Linked DNA regions of Homo sapiens: region 1 is linked to region 2. The links are contacts of gene promoters, found by promoter capture Hi-C in blood cells and fetal thymus (Javierre and others, 2016). All regions are on one chromosome and are shown on one strand. The core of a region is centred on a gene start or on the middle of the fragment in contact, and the rest is flanking DNA. Distances in the headings are between cores, read along the strand shown. Region 1 overlaps VPS45 (vacuolar protein sorting 45 homolog). Region 2 holds the start of SV2A (synaptic vesicle glycoprotein 2A).

Region 1 (4,617 bases), core at 689-3,188, 210 kb before region 2:
CTTTGTGGCAGGAGAATCGCTTGAACCCGGGAGGCGGAGGTTGCAGTGAGCCGAGATCGTGCCACTGCACTCCAGCCTGGGCGACAGAGCGAGACTCTGTCTCACTGAAAAAAAAAAAGAAAGAAAATCTCTTTGGGAAAGTTTCAAAACTTATCCTGAAACGTCCGTAGTGAAGAGAAGTCCCCTCTGGGTTCCTGCCTCTTTGAAATGCAAATTCTGTCATAGTATCCTAATTTTTCTGTAAATAATTCAGAGATTGAACCTACTGGTGGTTACAGGAGAAGGTCCAAGTTTCTAGTGTTACTTGTTTAGGTGGAAATCTATAAAGTACCTGTTGATAACACAAATTGAATCAGCCCCCTACCAGCCTCAAACTTATGTATAGAAATTCAAGATGCCAACTATTTTTTAGGCCCTTAGCTGTATTCACTACAAAAAGTATTAATTTCACTTACTCCATGTCAAAGTTAAATTATTATAACACTTAGGCATCATTTCAGATAGTTATGAAACTAAAAGCTTCCACTAATTAATCAAGTTAATTTTCTTTTTTTTTTTAAGACAAGGGTCCCATTCTGTTACCCAGGCTGGAGTGCAGTGGCGCGAACTTGACTCACTGCAACCTCTGCCCCCTGGGCTCAAGCTATCCTCCCATCTTAGCCTCCCGAGTAGCTGGGACCACAGGCACGCACCATCACGCCCAGCTATTTTTTTGTATTTTTGGTAGAGACAGGGTCTCACCATGTTGCCCAGGCTGGTCTTGAACTCCTGAACTCAAGCAATCTGCCCGCCCCGGCCTCCCAAAGTGTGGGATTACAGGTGTGAGTCACCATGCCTGGCCAAGTTAGTCATTTTTACTCAAAGAGCAACACTGTCTCTTAAATCTCATTTTTAATCATCATTGAATGATAAAATTCTTAAAATAAAAGTAAATGATCCCTCAGTTCTGTATTATTTTTTCCCCAGCTTTGGTTTACAATATTTCTTAGTAGTCTGAAAGCTTCACATATTATCCATTTGATAAAAACATATTTTGCCTATCTTATAGGTGACATTTATAAACAAAGGATTTAAAAATATCATAGCTAGATAAATATTCCAAAATATTATTTCAACTGAGTGCTTAGGTACTCATACTGGAAACAGACTGTGCCCAATTCCAGGTTTACCACTTACTAGCTTTATGACTTTGGACAAGGTACTTAACTTCTCTCTACTTTGATTTCCTCATCTGAAAAAGGAAGTTGATAACAATTATAAAAATATCTACCTTGGCTGGGTGTGGTGGCTCATGCCAGTAATCCCAGCAATTTGGGAGGCCAAGTTGGGAGGTTTGTTTGAGCCCAGGAGTTTGAGACCAGTCTGGACAACATAGCAAGACCCTGTCTCTAGAAAAAAATAAAAAGTTAGCACAAGCTACTTGTGAGGCTGAAGTGGTAGGACTGCTTGAACCCAGATCAATGTCACAGTGAGCTGTGTGTGTGCCACTGCACTCCAGCCTGGGCAACAGAGCGAGACCCTGTTTCAAAAAAAAAAAAATCTGCTTCACTGAGTCATTATGAGAATTAACAAAATTAAATGGATAAAGCAGTGCAAGTCACAAATGTTCTCGTGGCCACATTAAAAAAGTAAAATGAAACAGGTAAAATTAATTTTAGTAGTGTATTTTATTTAACCCATATATCCAAAATATTATCTTTCAGCATGTAATCAACTTAAAAAAGTACTGAGATATTTTACATTTTGTTGTACTGTCTTTAAAATTTGGTTAAGTGTTTTACCAAATTATCATCATACCCGTTGCTTTAGGAATTGTAATAGCCCAGTTTTCCTCAAAGTGTGTGAGTCATAACATCAGTTGACATCAGGTGGTTCTGGGGCATGGCATTAAATAACATTGAATTATGCAGTGAGAAACTATTCCATTTTAAATTATCTTTTTTATCTTTCTGAACATTTGAAGGAGAAAATGTCAGTTTGGTACTACAGTGCTTTGTCTTACCTGTAGCTATGATTACAGGTGCGTACCATGATGCCTGGCTAATTTTAACGTTTTTTGTGGAGATGGAGTCTCACTATGTTGCCCAGGCTGTTCTTGAACCCCTGGCCTCAAATGATCCTCCCAATTGAGCCTCCCAAAGTGCTGGGATTACAGGCATGGGCCACCTCTGCTCAGCTACATATAAATTTTTTTTATTGAGCTATAACTCATAGACAATAAAATTCACTGATATCAAGGATATTCTTTGATGAGTTTGCCAAATATATCCAGTTGTATAACCAACTCCTCAATCAAGATATAGAACATTTCCATCACTTGAGCAAGAGCTTCTTAAAAATCAAAAAACAGGCCGGTGTGGTGGCTCACGCCTGTAATCCCAGCACTTTGGGAGGCCGAGGAGGGCGGATCACGAGGTCAGGAGATTGAGACCATCCTGGCTAACATGGTGAAACCCCATTTCTACTAAAAATACAAAAAAAAATTAGCCAGGCATGGTGGCAGATGCCTGTAGTCCCAGCTACTTGGGAGGCTGAGGCAGGACAATGGCGTGAACCTGGGAGGCGGAGCTTGCAGTGAGCCGAGATGGCACCACTGCACTCCAGCATGGGCGACAGAGTGAGGCTCTGTCTCAAAAAAACAAAACAAAACAAAAACCCAACAACAAAAGCCATGAAATTAATCCCATACCTTAGAATATATAATGCTAAATTGCTTTCTAGGAAAGTTATACTAATTTATCCTTCTACTGGCAATATTTCAGACTGCCTCACTATACGTTTATCTTAAACCTTTGTCCCCACCGAGATGGGGACCAAGTTTTATCAGTACGTAAGATGTTTATTGAAGCATTATTTATATTAAAAATGTAAGCTTGGCCAGGGGCAGTGGCTCATATCTATAATCCCACCACTTTGGGAGTCTGAGACGGGTGGATCACAAGGTCAGGAGTTCAAGACCAGTCTGGCCAAGATGGTGAAAGCCCGTCTCTACTAAAAATACAAAAATTAGCTGGGAGTGGTGGCAGGCGCCTATAATCCCAGCTACTCGGGAGGCTGAGGCAGAGAATTCCTTGAACCTGGGTGGTGGAGGTTACAGTGAGCTGAGATCACATCACTGCACTCTAGCCTGGGCAACAGAGGAGACTCCATCTCAAAAATGATTAAAAAATATAAAAAAAATAAAAAATATATCTCCTAATGCTATCCCTCCCCCCTCCCCCCAGTGTGTGATGTTCCCCTTCCTGTGTCCAAGTGTTCTCATTGTTCAATTCCCACCTATGAGTGAGAACATGTGGTGTTTGGTTTTTTGTCCTTGCGATAGTTTGCTCAGAATGATGGTTTCCAGTTTCATCCATGTCCCTACAAAGGACATGAACTCGTCATTTTTTAAATGATGAGTTAATGGGTGCAGCACACCAACATGGCACATGTATACATATGTAACAAACCTGCACATTGTGCACATGTACCCTAGAACTTAAAGTATAATAAAAATATATATATATTAAAAAATAAATAAAAAAAGTAAAAAAAATAAAAAATACATATCCAATACAGAAAAAAGAAGATTTTGAATGTTCCCAATACAAAGAAATGATAAATGTTTGATGTGCTGTTATGCTAAATATCCTGATTTGATCAGTATACATTGTATACATGTATCAAAATATTACTCTGTACCTAATAAATGTGTAAAATTATTACATGTCAATTAAAAATTTAAAAAAGCAAAAAAATAAATAAATAAAAAATAAAAGTAAACTTGCAGCTGAATATGCTGGTGAAAAAAATGTAAACAACCTAAATGTCCAATGGTAATAGTTAAATAAAGACCCATCCTTAAAAATAAAATTATATAGCCATTAAGATTGTTTTAAAGACTTTTTAGTAACATGGGAAAATGTTCTCAAATGATTAAAGAAAAAAACTCTATAGATCTTATGTTAAAAACAAAACATAAACAAAATTCTAAAACATTTAGGTTAAAAAAATATTAGAAGGGGCTGGGCACAGTGGCTTATGCCTATAATCCCAGCACTTTGGGAGGACAAGGCAGGCGGATTACTTGAGGTCAGGAGTTCAAAACCAGCCTGGCCAACATGGTGAAACCCCATCTCTACTAAAAATACAAAAAAAAAAAAAATTAGCCAGGTGTGATGCTGCAGGCTTGTAGTCCCAGCTACTTGGGAGGCTGAGGCATGAGAATTACTTAAATCCGGGAGGTAGGGGGGTTGGAGTGAGGCGGGATTGTGCCACTGCACTCCAGCCTGGGTGACAGGGCGAGACTCTGTCTCAAAAAAAAAAAAAGAAAAAAGAAAAAAAGCCAACATATTAACAGTGATTAGCTCTGAGCTGTGGTATTATGAATGATTTTTACTTTTATAATTCATTTTTTTTTTCCAAGACGGAGTCTTGGTCTCTCACCCAGGCTGGAGTGCAGTGGCGCGATCTCGGCTTACTGTAACCTCTGCCTCCCAGATTCAAGCAATTCTTCTGCCTTAGCCTCCTGAGTAGCTGGGACTACATGTGCACGCCACCACGTCTGACTGATTTTTGTATTTTTAGTAGCGATGGGGTTTCACTACGTTGGCCAGGCTGGTCTTGAACTCCAGACCT
Region 2 (4,349 bases), core at 835-3,334:
CTCCTAAAAATACAAAAAATTAGCCGGGTGTGGTGGCGGGCACCTGTAGTCCCAGCTACTCGGGAGGCTGAGGCAGGAGAATGGCATGAACCCGGGAGGCGGAGCTTGCAGTGAGCCGAGATTGTGCCACTGCACTCCAGCCTGGGCGACGGAGCAAGACTCTGTCTCAAAAAAAAAAAAAAAAGTTAACTGGGTGTGGTGGCTCGTGCCTGTAGTCCCAGCTACTGGGAAGGCTGAGGCAGGAGAATCACTTGAACACCGGAGGTGGAGGTTACAGTGAGCTGAGATTGCGCCACTGCACTCCAGCCTGGGCGACAGAGTGAGACTCTGTCTCAAAAAAAAAAAAAAAAAGAAAAAGAATGTGTGTTAACCTGAAGACGGGTCAGCAATGAAAGTCTAGTAAAGGGAGAGTCCCTGAGGCCAGTCCAAGCACCATCCTGGAAAGCCGTCACATTCAGAGTAGTCCAGGAGTGCTGGCAAGGCTGCCAATAGCAAAGAGGTGGGGGTAGAAGATTGTTGCCAAGAAGAGTTTTCTGGACCCATTGGCATGGCTGCTTATTGCAGATGGCCAGATGCCATTAAAGATACAAATCCTCCAGTAATGTCATTGTGCATTTATACATTGACATTATGATTCTGATTTGGCTTCAGGGAGAGAATGTACTAGACATGTAGATATGAGTTTTCAGTCTGAGTGACAGTTAAATATTTATGATAAATTAATATTTATGTATTATGGCTTTATATTTCAGAAGATTGTGAACTTTGTTGGCATGAATGATTATTTCCAAGATCCAGCTTTGGAGTCTGCAAAGCCCAGGCCCGTGTCCCTGTCAGAGGTAAATTCAACCTGGCAAATGTTACCTGTGTGGTCTCTTCGGACATAGCCTGTCAGCCTTCTCCATGTATATATATCAGCATTCTGAAGCCTCCACATTTAGTAAGGCAGAATCACACGCTATTAGATCTGAGAGGGACCTGATGCAGTATCTAGTCCAAGCCCCCCTTTTCCAGATGAGAAACCTGAAGTTCACAGATGTGGAGAACTTGACCAAGAGTTGACAGCTTGTTAGCAGTGAGAACCCAGGTCCAAGCCCAGGTCAGTGCTGTCTGGAAGGTCCTGACCTTATCTGGCATAGACACATTCAGGATGTATTTCCCCAAATCACCATATTCCCTCTCACTCCTTCGGCAGGGATGGTCATCAAGTGTCACCAAGTGGCATGTCTTGGATCTCTGAGTCCAGGTTATTGATGCAAGAGCAAAGGAAAGATGAAGGGAAAAGCTGAAACAATTTACTTCTTCCTGCCCGGGAAGTACAAGTGTGTGGAGGGGAGGGGAGGGAGGTAGAGGAGAGTAAGAGAAAATGGAGAAGGGTATTGAGAGGATCCTTTTTGAGTCATTGGAGCAAATTAATGGAAGGGGAACTGTCCGGTTGGTCAGGTCTGTAAAAATCCCTCAACTTCCCCAGTACTTCTGCTACCACCAACTGAATGGACAGGATGAGGAGGTGTCCACTGTAAATAAGTAACCTGGACTGTTTTGTGAGGAAAGAGATGGAAGGAATCCAGGGGTCTCTGACTCTGGCAGTTCAGGATAGAAACCACACCTTGTTATCTCTGCTTTCTCTAAAATGTCCAGGTAAACTTGGAATAGGAGCACTCTGGATTTGGGAGACTGTTGTGAAAAAGGAGTTTGAGAGCAGTGGAGAAGGCAAGGGAGGTGTTTTGAAGGCAGCAAAAGCCCCTGAAATTATTGGGTCCTGCCATACTGAGACTGGGGTGCTAAGGAAGGGGCTGCCACATTCCCCATCTCCCTGTCTTCCCACTTGTCTTCCTAACATCACTGTTTTTTTCTTTAGTTCCTTCTATCTTTTACTAGGAAGGGCCTGGGAAGGGCTGGGTGCCATTTCCAGCTGTTCTTGTGACAACCTCCGGCCCTTTCATCATTTCTCCCCGTGCCCTGACTCCCTCCCCATCCTCTTTTCTCCTCTCCCCACCAATGGTCTCTCCCGATGCTCAGTGGCGCGGGGTAGGGGGGGGCGGAGGCGGGGCTGGAGTGGTGGAAGGGGGGTGGCAGGTCTGCATTGCCGCTTCCCTGGTGCCGGGAGCAGTCGCCGCTGCCGCCTCCGCCCGCGGCCGGGACCCCCGTCCTCGCCCGGGACTCCTTACCCGGGGAACCTAGACCAGGTGAGACCCCTTTCTCAGTCGCTCACCTCCTCCCCGCCCCTGGCAGAAGCATCTTTGCCTTGCCTTGCAGCCATTTTATCCTCCGATGCTTTGCTTATGGGGAGGGTGACGATCCCCTCTCTAGGGGTGAGGGGGGTTGGTGGGTTGGTGGTGGTTTGGGGATGGACATTTATTTCAGTTGTGCTCTTCAGGACACACACACACACACGCATATGTATAATATTGGTGAATGGGGAGGAGGGGTGTTTTTCTCTACCTTAACCAAGTCCCCACTATCCCCTTCGGAGATTAACGTGGTGGTGGGGTTGTGAGGTGGGATGAGGTTCCCTCAAACTCCTATCCCCTCCTCACCTTGACGTCCCCCCACCCCCAGGATGAATGATAAATGACCTTGGCTGGGGCTGGAGAATGGATGCTGCCTCAGTGTGCACGCCTGGACTTGGGTGGGTGGGGGGCAGGGGAAGAAGGGCAGGTGAAGGATGGAGGGAAGGGGAGTGAAGAATGGAAATACTGGGGAGACAGAGATGTAGAGCCGCCAGGTGTTGGGGGCATGGATGGCGGGGGCTGGCGGCAGTTGCTCCGGGGTGGGGGGAAGGGATGTTGAGTGAAGGTGGACACTTGTCTAGCAGCAGGACCAAGGGTGGAGGAGGTGCTCAGAGCAGGGATTTAGTCAGTTCTGGGGGCTTTTCCCTTATTCCGGAGCTGAGGCAAGATGGGGTGTGGGGGGGTCGCTGCAAATGCTGATAGGGGCGGTCTCTATGTCTGTGCATGCGGAGGTCTCTCCCTGCGTCCCCCTCTCTGCCTCTCCGTATTCCTCAGTGTGCATTCTCAGCTGACACCCTCATTTTTATCCCTCAGAACTGTGGGTGCTCCTATCTTCCTAACCTTGGTAGGATGTGGGGAGGGGAGGCGCAGTCTTGATGGTCCTGGGTGGGGGCTGAAGTTCGATGACCGGGCTGTCATGGGGAAGGGGTGCTCCCGCACCTCCCACATTCTACCCCCGCCCCCGCGGACGTTTTGATAAGTGATTGCTTTTTAATGACCTTGTCACCTGAGCTAGGAAGGCCTGGGGATCTGGGTGGACCCCAAAGTCAGGGGCTTTGACTGGGAGGGTGGGGGGTTCTGGACCCAGGGCTGGATGAGCTGTTCTGAAAGAAAGCATTTGCTCTGGAGTCCCCTGCCTGTCTCCACCCTCTGCAGAAAATCTCCTGGGCACATTTTTTCCTGTCAGGTGAAGTCAGCCAGCCTAGGACCTTGTAACCCTGAACCTTGTCTCCTTTAACCTCCACCTCTCCAAGTCTTGTCTCACTCCCCCAGGCTTAGCCACCCTGTGCTGTTTTGGGGGCTAAAAATAGCACCACTTCCTCACCAGCTCAAAGAATTTGTCTTCTTTCTTTCTCTCCTGACCTCCTGGGCTTGCTGGCCCTGAGGAAGCTGGCTGTTGAGACCTCATATCCTGCTGTGGTTGTGGAAGGCTTCCCTGCCCTACGTGCCCCTCTCAGGGGGAAATAGGGTCAACAAACATAGAGTATGGCTCCTGGTGGGTCCTGCCTCCTTCAGGGCTGGAGGGGAGATCCTGGTTAGGAAAGAGAGGAAAGCTAGCAAATTGCCATGCGCTGAGGGGATTCCGCAGTTCCAGCTCTTTCATGGGGGATGGTTGGGCCCTGAACCATGAAGAAAAGGTGACATAGGGGTCACTGCTTCTGGTCACCGTGGTCCACTGCTTACATCTGTCCTGAGGGGATAAGGCGCTGCTTGCCAGTGCTTCTCTCTGAACCACATAGCATTGCTTACCGTCTTCTACCAGGGCGTGTGTGTGTGTGTGCGTGTGTGTGTGTGTGTGTGTGTTTTAATGAAGGCCCTGGATGGGTGGGAGCACCGGAGGCAGGATATTTTTAGGGGGATGATTTCTGATCAGAATCTAGGCCTGCTTCCTCTGCTCCTATGAAGGAAGGGGGCTATCCCATGCCTTCCTCTGGAGAATGTCTTTTTTGGGGGGACACCCAAACCCCCTTTATTCTACATCCGCCTCCTACGCAATGCGGTGTTTGTGGACTCCTTCTTCCTTGACTCCTGGAGGAGGAGCAGAAAGGATTAAGGGGGATTAGGAAGGGAGGCCCTGGAGGGATGGGATGCAACTGTAGGCCTTAGAACCTCATG

What was found. Contacts are between HindIII fragments. The CHiCAGO score rates a contact against its expected background, and 5 or more counts as called.
Region 1: a contact is called between a fragment that was not itself captured here and the fragment with the promoter of SV2A in region 2, in 1 of 17 cell types (monocytes). The highest score is 5.2, in monocytes.

The regions. Positions count from the first base shown.
Region 1 is chr1:150,124,244-150,128,860 of GRCh38, reverse strand. The region is part of intron 14 of VPS45 (vacuolar protein sorting 45 homolog); the gene reads right to left. Among named protein-coding and RNA genes, the nearest start is that of PLEKHO1, 23 kb to the left of the region's middle. The HindIII fragment of the contact is 1,872 bases long and covers 1,003-2,874 here.
Region 2 is chr1:149,915,579-149,919,927 of GRCh38, reverse strand. SV2A (synaptic vesicle glycoprotein 2A) reads left to right here and starts at 2,084. Exons shown (of 13, transcript NM_014849.5): 1 at 2,084-2,189. RefSeq lists a silencer at 2,171-2,240. The HindIII fragment of the contact is 16,072 bases long and covers 1-4,349 here.